Linked DNA regions of Homo sapiens: region 2 is linked to region 1. Evidence: promoter capture Hi-C in 16 types of primary human blood cells and fetal thymus (Javierre and others, 2016). All regions are on one chromosome and are shown on one strand. The core of a region is centred on a gene start or on the middle of the fragment in contact, and the rest is flanking DNA. Distances in the headings are between cores, read along the strand shown.

Region 1 (3,963 bases), core at 838-3,337:
CACCCAGGCAGGAGTGCAGTGGCGCAACCTTGTCTCACCAAAGCCTCTGCCTCCCAGGTTCAAGCGATTCTCCTGATTCAGCCTCCTGAGTAGCTTGGATTACAGGCGCATGCCACCATGCCCAGCTACTTTTTGTATTTTTAGTAGAGACAGGGTTTCACCATGTTGGCCAGGATGGTCTTGAATTCCTGGCCTCAAGTGACCTACCCATCTCAGCCTCCCAAAGTGCTGGGATTTCAGGCTTGAGCCACTGCACCTGGCCATCTGTTACTATGCTTATTACCTGGGTGATGAAATAATCTGTATACCAAAACCCTGTGACACACAATTTACCTATATAACAAACGTGCACATGTACCCCTGAACTTGAAATAAATTTAAATTAAAAAGACTAAAGACCCCTGCCCTCACAAAGCTTCCCTTGCCTCACTTCTCTCAATGGGCAGGTAGATATGCCCAGGAATACATGCTGAACAATCAAAGAAATCTCTTTTCTATCACATGCTAGGAACTAAAAAGATATTTATCAGGAAAATGATAGTGGTTAGCCTTCCTTACCAACATACAAGTATTTAACAAAATCAAAAATATATGCAGTATGGATTAATGTTATCAGCATTTCAACCGCATTGCAGTTGTTTAAATGGTTAAGATGTATGCGGAGCTCAAAACTAGGATGATTACAACCAAGGCTTCATTTCTCCCTGTCTTCTCAGCAGCAGCCACTCCACTGGAAGTAGAACTGGCCATGGTGGTGCTGACGGGAACCATGGAGAAGATGGGATAGTGGTTCCTCCAGCATAGGATGTTCAGTGGCTAGGGATTCCCAGGTCTTGTTTGACATCAATTACCGTACAGTTTCCTACATTGGTGAACAAATAGGGCTATAACTTAGCTTAGACTTCCTCCCCCTTATCATGTGTGTGAATTATTCATAAGTCAAGTTTATGTTTACAGAGACCTACTGTAGTCTCACCATTTCGTCAGCATCACCATAAAACCTGCGACTCGAAATATGAAGGTGAATCATGAGATGATCAGATTTATTTGAAATGCTATTAAAATTATAGACCTTCCACCTGAGTTGTTCCTATTCTAAAGCTCAAAAATGGCCCTTAGAAAATCTCTCCTTTCGTTCTTCTGGTTCTGCATGCTGTAATGTAAGCTAAATATGAGCTTTTGAAGAGCAATAAACAATAAATAAAAAGAAATGTTTGCTTCCCCAGAAATATAATTTTATTTTTTTTTACAGTGCAAAAATACAGCATACAAATAGTATTATCCTGGAAGAAAAAAATCTCATCTGAGAACCTTGAAACAGTAGAAAAAAGGGTGATGAGTCAGTGGGACAGAGTTCTATTCAAGAGGAGCTTTGATTTTTATTTACTCGTTTTTTTTTTCAAGCCAGGAATTCGAATGATGAAAGCTGGAATTTTTCTCAAGATTGTCAGAGAGGGCCAGGATTAGCTGCATAATTATGTGGGGAAATAGATAGGATGTTATTGTTGAATTCGTGCTTGAGGATCAGCTAGGCTGCAAAGGTGGAGTCTCTCATCTGATCCAGAAGGGGTAGAAGAGTCTGCACAAGCTTCTGTGCACCTGGGAATGTTTCGTGCGTTGAGAGGAGAGGTGGGGTCTCAGCAGGAGGAGGTCCTGCAGGTGGTGCTGCAAGGGGTCGGCTGGCCGCAGGGAGGCCGGCAGCAGGGGGACTGCACAGACACAGGCTGGCAGCAGGTGGTGGCCCAGCAGCAGGGCCTGCACACCACAGCCGTGCACGACGAGGGGCAGCAGGTGATGGGGCGGCAGCAGCCTTCCTGCAGGGAGCAGGGGTCGCAGCACACCGGGCGGCGGCAGGGCTCGCAGATGGGGCGCGTGCAGCGGGGCACGCAGGTCACGGGGCGGCACACGGTGGTCTGGCAGGTCACGGGGCGGCAGCAGCAGGGGTCGCGGCAGCAGCAGGGCTGGCAGCAGCCTCCCCCGTAGCTCAGGGAGGACAAGGTGGAGCCGCAGCAGGAGCCGGTCATGGTGGTGTCTGAGGCTGGTGTGGGTTGGGCTGTTGAGAGGAGCTGGATGTTCTCAGGTGTGAATGTCCTCGTTCCACTCTGGGCCCTTTATATATCCTAGCTGGATGCTGATGACCCCCAGGACATGAGGTCATTTCCTGGAGTTGTAGCTGCCCGTTGAAATGAGAACTCTGGATTTAACTGCTGAGGCAGCGATCCCTAAATCACTAAAGAATGCTTTGTTTTCTACCTGTCTACTTTTTCCCTAGAACGGAATACCTGGTCATGTATATCATCAGAACAATTGCTCATCTATCAGCTAGTCCTTCCAGGCCATGCCATGTGAGAAGGTGCAAGTTTGAAGAATCCAGCCACCATCACACTTTCCTCTTGTTCGCTGCCATCCGTGACTTAAGCATGGGACTGGAATGTTCATGAGTCACAGGCTGGGTTTCTGATTGGCATTGAGATCAAGCAAGAATTTCTTAAAAACCAAAATGGCTCATAAGAGCAGATGTGTATTGATTCTGCTATGGAAAGAATGGCCCAGTGTTTAATGACACAGTGCCTAACCTTGTTTATAAGAAAATCATCACCAAAGCTGCTAGACTGATTTTATTTTAGTAATCTGAGTTGGTTTATAACTCATTAACACTTATGAGACACTTATTATGTAGATGGTACTGTACTATTTGGGGGTGGAGGGGGAAAGGAAAGAAAAATAGCTTTCAAATAGTTTCCTATCACATAGTAATCATAACTTTTAGTAAGGCAAGACAAAGATAAATCAAGCAATTAAAGGGAAAGAACTTTTCTGGGAACAATAAGGTCAAACTAAATGGGGATTTCATTCATTCTGTGCCTTTCTGAATGCCCTTCCCTGATTATTGACCTAGAAATAAAATTGAAATTGGGCTATTTCTTGCTTTCTTGCTTTGACATATGCACTTTGTATTACATACTTAAAAATCTATGGACAATATCTACAAAGGAATCAATTATCTTTCTGTCACAGCTTCTTTAGTTTGTTGGCTGAGGGTTTTGTTTGTTTATGAGGTGGGAAGGTGGCATTATGAAAAAGACAAGGGGAATTAGTTTAGCTGGTGACCAATAAAATAGCTTTGTCTTTTCCAGCCATAGCAAAGATGAATAGGAATACAGAAAATAAATTTAGAGTTGGAAGGTAGATTAAAGATAACATTGTCCAAGGAATGCTGATGGTCTTCAGTGCAAATTTACCTCTGAGGTGTGTTTTGTTTTGTTTTCTCTTTTTAAAAATACACCCTTTGGTCTATCATATCCCTGATCTTTGAAGTCCTTTGAGTCTATGATCCATCATAGTCCATCACAGTTTTTGGAAGACCAGATTTACAAAATGAATTCCTCCAAAGTCGTACGGATCAAAGAGTGGCAAATATTTAGCAATACCACAGGTCTTCTGTGGAGTAGAAACACTGGTGATGTCTCCCAGTCTTTTTCCAACTCGGAGTCACTCAAAATAGATAACATGTAGCAGTAGTTATTAAAAAGTTTTATTCCCTTTAGTGAAATAAAATAAGTACTCACTTGATACATGGTTTAGCATTCTGTTCTTTGTTTTGGAATGTATACAGAGATGCCAAACTAAAAAGAGAAATATGTCTGTAAATCCACTGCTTTTGTTAACAAAAGAACACAGTACTAAGAAATACTGTTTTCTAAAATTATAGGCTGTTAGAAACCTTGCTCTTCCAAGCCACATCAGTAAGAAGGAAACATTTCACTCTTGCCTAGACAGGATCTAAGTCATCTGGACAGAGAAGCAACCTCAGTACCCAACCCAGGTACAGAATTTCAGACAAGTGACTTGCAGACACAACATTCCCCATTTGTCTCAACTATACAGTTTCCAGTGAAAGAGGACCATAAGTCTGTTTCACAGCTCAGGTCTGGTGTTAATTATTTTTTATACACAGCCCTG
Region 2 (3,963 bases), core at 818-3,317, 570 kb after region 1:
CAGGGATGCCAGCCAGCCCAGGCACCTGCAAGCACTGCTGGGGAGAAGTAGGCCCTGGCAGAGGAGGTTCCCCTAAATTGGTGAAAAATCACAGTTGGGAATGCACAGAAATTAGCGCAGGCCCAAGAATGAAAGGGCAGGGGTTCAGCACAGCAGGAAGAAGAAAAAGAAACAGCACAGCAGTAGGTCTGGCGGCACTCTGTGGCTACTCACCAGGAATTTACAAGGAGAAGCTGAGCAAGTGGTTTTTCCATAACCCAGAGGGCCCAACAAATAGACCCAATTAAAGCAGGAGAGACTGTTGTTAGACTATAGATGGACTTCACCATTTCCGGGGAGCAAAAAGCTGCAACGTGTGACTAAGCATGGAGACTCCGGGACACTCTCAGCTGAAGGCCTGATCACCCTTCCCAACTGCAAACCCAACCACCACCCACCTTGCTCTTCACCACTCACACAGTCATCAGAACCAGAAACCCAGGGCCATCAATGCCTGCTCCTTCATGTGTTCTCCCGACACTTACTGAGTCCTGACTGTGAGCCATGCTTACCCCGAGATCCAGGCATCCAGTCCCGCTGTTTTGAGCTATAACCTCTCTTCTGCGTGCACCACCTTCCTTCCCCTGCCCCACTACCCACCACCGCACGGGACTTCTCTGGCCAGACTCCCTGCTCCAGCCCCCTGACACATCTCTCTGGCCCCGCCCTGACCCCTCTGATCCATTTCTCCCTCTGCAGCCAGAGTGAATGTTCTAAAATCTCTTGATGTTCATTTCACTCTCCTGCTCCAAATCCCTCCATGGCTCCCCATTGCCTACGTGATCTAGTCCAGACGCTTTAACTTGGCATTCAAGGCTCCTCAGCCAGACTCCAGCCTGCATCGTCAGTATCACCTCCTGCAAACCCCAACAGGTTCCGACATTCACACCTCCTGAATTTCGCTGGTGCTCAGACACCAACTTCTCCCTGGGTGAAGCGGGCCCCCAGCCCACCCCAACAGGCACCCTGGTACACACTCACTGGGCGTCCTCAACCTCCAGCAAGCGGCGGTAGGTGGCGATCTCCTGCTCCAGCCACGTCTTCACGTCCAGAAGGACCTGTGCTTGTGGTCCTGGTGCTCCGTGTCGCAGCAGAGCTCGCACAGCTGCTGCTCCATGCTTCTGTTAAGCCCCTGCAGCTGGGCCGGCAGGGTCCTGTAACACACCTCCATCTCCACCAGGCTGCCCTCCAGCGATGCTTTCTGTGGGCCAAGAGATAGGTGGTGTGATGAGCTGGACCTGGGACCCTTCCCCATGGCAGAGCACTAGAGAGGAGCCCCTCCTGTATGGGGCTGTGGGTGCTGCCAGCACAATGAGGTGGTAGTGCACCCAGCCACTGAGTGTGAAGGGACAGGCTGGGTGGGGACTCTGGTTCCCCAAGCAGGGGTCTACAAGGCTGGGCTCACCCTGGGGTGACAGGTACAGGGTGGGGAGGGGACAGAGACCCTACCTTGCTGAGCTGGGACGGCTCAGGTTCTGCACAGAGACGTAGAGCTCCATATCTCTATCCAGCCACTCTGCAGGGCCTCTGTGTTGGTGGCCACCTCGCAGTTCAGCCCCTCTTTCTGGAAGGCAGAGTGGGCCACAGGGGTTTATGGAGACTTTCAGAAGCGGGGCACAGGAAAGGGCTGCTCCTGAACCCTCACCTCCCAGAACCATCCCCTAGCCCCTCCCTGGCCTCTATGGGGCCCCAAAGGCACCTGCACACAGAGAGCCTCTGCACCCACATTGGAACTTGGAGGAATTCAGCCTGCTCTGCGGTCATTTGCATTTCTTTTTCCTACTGAACTGCAGCACCTCAAAGACAGGCACTGGGTGTTATTCTTTTGCGCCTGTTGCTGTCCCTAGGATACCGGAGATACTCAGCCTGTGCTTGCCAAGGGTATACATATGTATTCAAATACGCACATCCTGTAAACAGCTGTGGTGGAAACCCAAGACCAGACTTGTAGAGACCTGGATCTATTTTGCAGGCCACAGTGAAGGGCTGTGTGAGCTTGAGTCCTCTCTGAGCCTCACGTTTTACATCTAAAACATGAGGGGCTGGTCCAACTGGTTTCCAAAAGTCCTTCCAACTGGGACAGCCTGTGGATCTGCCAGTGCTCCAGCTGCACCAGCATGCAGCACATGTGCCCACACGTGTACACACCTGCTTACGCACGGCCACCCACCATGCTGAAGAACCAGCCCTCGGCATCCTTGCAGCTCTTCTCCACCAATGTCTTGTCCTGGTCACGCATCTCATTCAGGATGCAGCTCAGGTTCACTCCAGGCACAGTGTCCATCTTCACACTGACATCCTCATCCACCTGACCTCAAAGGACGTTCATTTCCTGGGCAGAGAGGACAGCAGAAGCTCACCCAAGGCCATCCTGGAGAAAGACCCTGGGGCCTGCCTTCTTTCCCTCGGAGAGACAGGTACAGATGACAGACAGACAGACACAGATAGGCCAACAGCTCCTCACCCTGAAGGTGGAGGTGGATGTTGTCATTTCTCAAACATACAGGGCTGTGAATATTAGCAACCTCCCCCAACACACACCGTGACGCGGGACTGGAATTCACCCATCCCCAACAAGTGCTAAGCCCCGAGAGATGACAACCCCCCAGCACGGTGGAGGATGACCACGGGCGACCTCACTCACTGCCCTGACCTTGCCCCCACCACTGCCTTGCCCCCACCACCAAGCCCACAGCACAGGCATGCAGAAAGCAACCCTACGCTGTGTCACTGCGCCAGGCCCCGTTAGCAAATGTTAATCTGCTGGAGGAAAGCAATTGTATAACCAGCCTCAAAGCCAGGGGGAAACACCTTCCGGGTGTCCTGCTTCTCGGGGAGTAGGCTCCCCCAGCTCAGAGCAGCACAGAGCTCGGCTGAGAAGGAAGACACAGGACAGGGCATGTAAGGCCTCCTGACTGCCCCACAGGACCTTGGATCTCTATCCTTGGGTTGAGCTTTGGAGTCCCTGCGACCTAGAGCCTTCTGGAAAGGAGAGGCAGGAGAGGGGGCAGAGAGGTGGGGTGGATACGAGTCCAACAGACCTGAAGGAGGGTCCCTGTGCAGCCATAGATAAATCCCTTAACCTCTCTGAGCCTCCGTTTCTTCAAAGGTCAAAAGGAAGTAAGAGTATCTTTCTCCCAGCTGTTGTATCAGCTGAGATAATGGCTGTGAGTCACTTGTAGTGCTGGGCAGAAGTTCCTTGTTTTAATGACTATCACTATTATAATTAATTATAACAAGCATTGTGTTAATTATAACTAGCATTGTGTGTTCTTAAACTGAGTTACTCATTAGTTAGTTAACTGCAGTGAGCTGAGCCTCAAGGGACAAATGAAGTCTATTTGGGACGAGGGGCTCCTCCAGGCCTCACGCAGTGTCCTCTGAGGGTCAGGGCTAGTCATCCATAAAAGACGGGAACTGGACTGAAAGCACAGCCCAGCCCAGGGAGGTTCTGGGCCCCAGCCTCGCTTGCTTCCAGGTGAATTTCTGCTGCGTTCCCTGAGCTGACCTCACCTGCTTGTGGTTCTTCTTCAGGTAGACCAGGTCCTCCTTGAGGTTCTCAATCTGCATCTCCAGGTTGGCCCCGGCCAGGGTCAGCTTGTCCAGCCCCTGGGGCAGCTCCAGAGACCCAGCCTCACTTGGTGCAGAGGTCATCGGCAGCCAGGTGGGCATCATCCACCTGTAGCCAGCACGAAGCTGGAATTACCGACCACAGCCACCAGGATCTGGGAGAGACGGGGTCTCCATGAGAAAATGCCCTTGGCAGCCTCCAGGAGACCCTCCAACACCCTTCTTGCAGGCTTTTCGGAAGTGAGCCAGGGTGAGGGTGATGAGAGTCCCCATGGTCTTCTCTGAGCACCCCCCTGGGAACTTCTGGGGAGCCAGGGTGAGGGTGATGAGAGTCCCCGTGGTCTTCTCTGAGCA

Evidence for each region. The method cuts DNA at HindIII sites, captures the fragments that hold promoters and counts their contacts. A CHiCAGO score of 5 or more calls a contact.
Region 2: a fragment that was not itself captured here is called in contact with the fragment with the promoter of KRTAP2-3 in region 1 in 2 of 17 cell types (total CD8 T cells and naive CD4 T cells); the score reaches 6.7 in total CD8 T cells.

Annotation. Positions count from the first base shown.
Region 1 is chr17:41,058,027-41,061,989 of GRCh38, forward strand. It overlaps KRTAP2-3 (keratin associated protein 2-3), which reads right to left and starts at 2,088. Exons shown (of 1, transcript NM_001165252.2): 1 at 1,214-2,088. The coding sequence starts at 2,024. The coding sequence ends at 1,638. RefSeq lists enhancers at 1,258-1,832, 1,833-2,407. The HindIII fragment of the contact is 5,271 bases long and covers 1,587-3,963 here.
Region 2 is chr17:41,626,867-41,630,829 of GRCh38, forward strand. It overlaps the pseudogene KRT42P. Among named protein-coding and RNA genes, the nearest start is that of KRT17, 4.3 kb to the left of the region's middle. The HindIII fragment of the contact is 5,188 bases long and covers 1-3,963 here.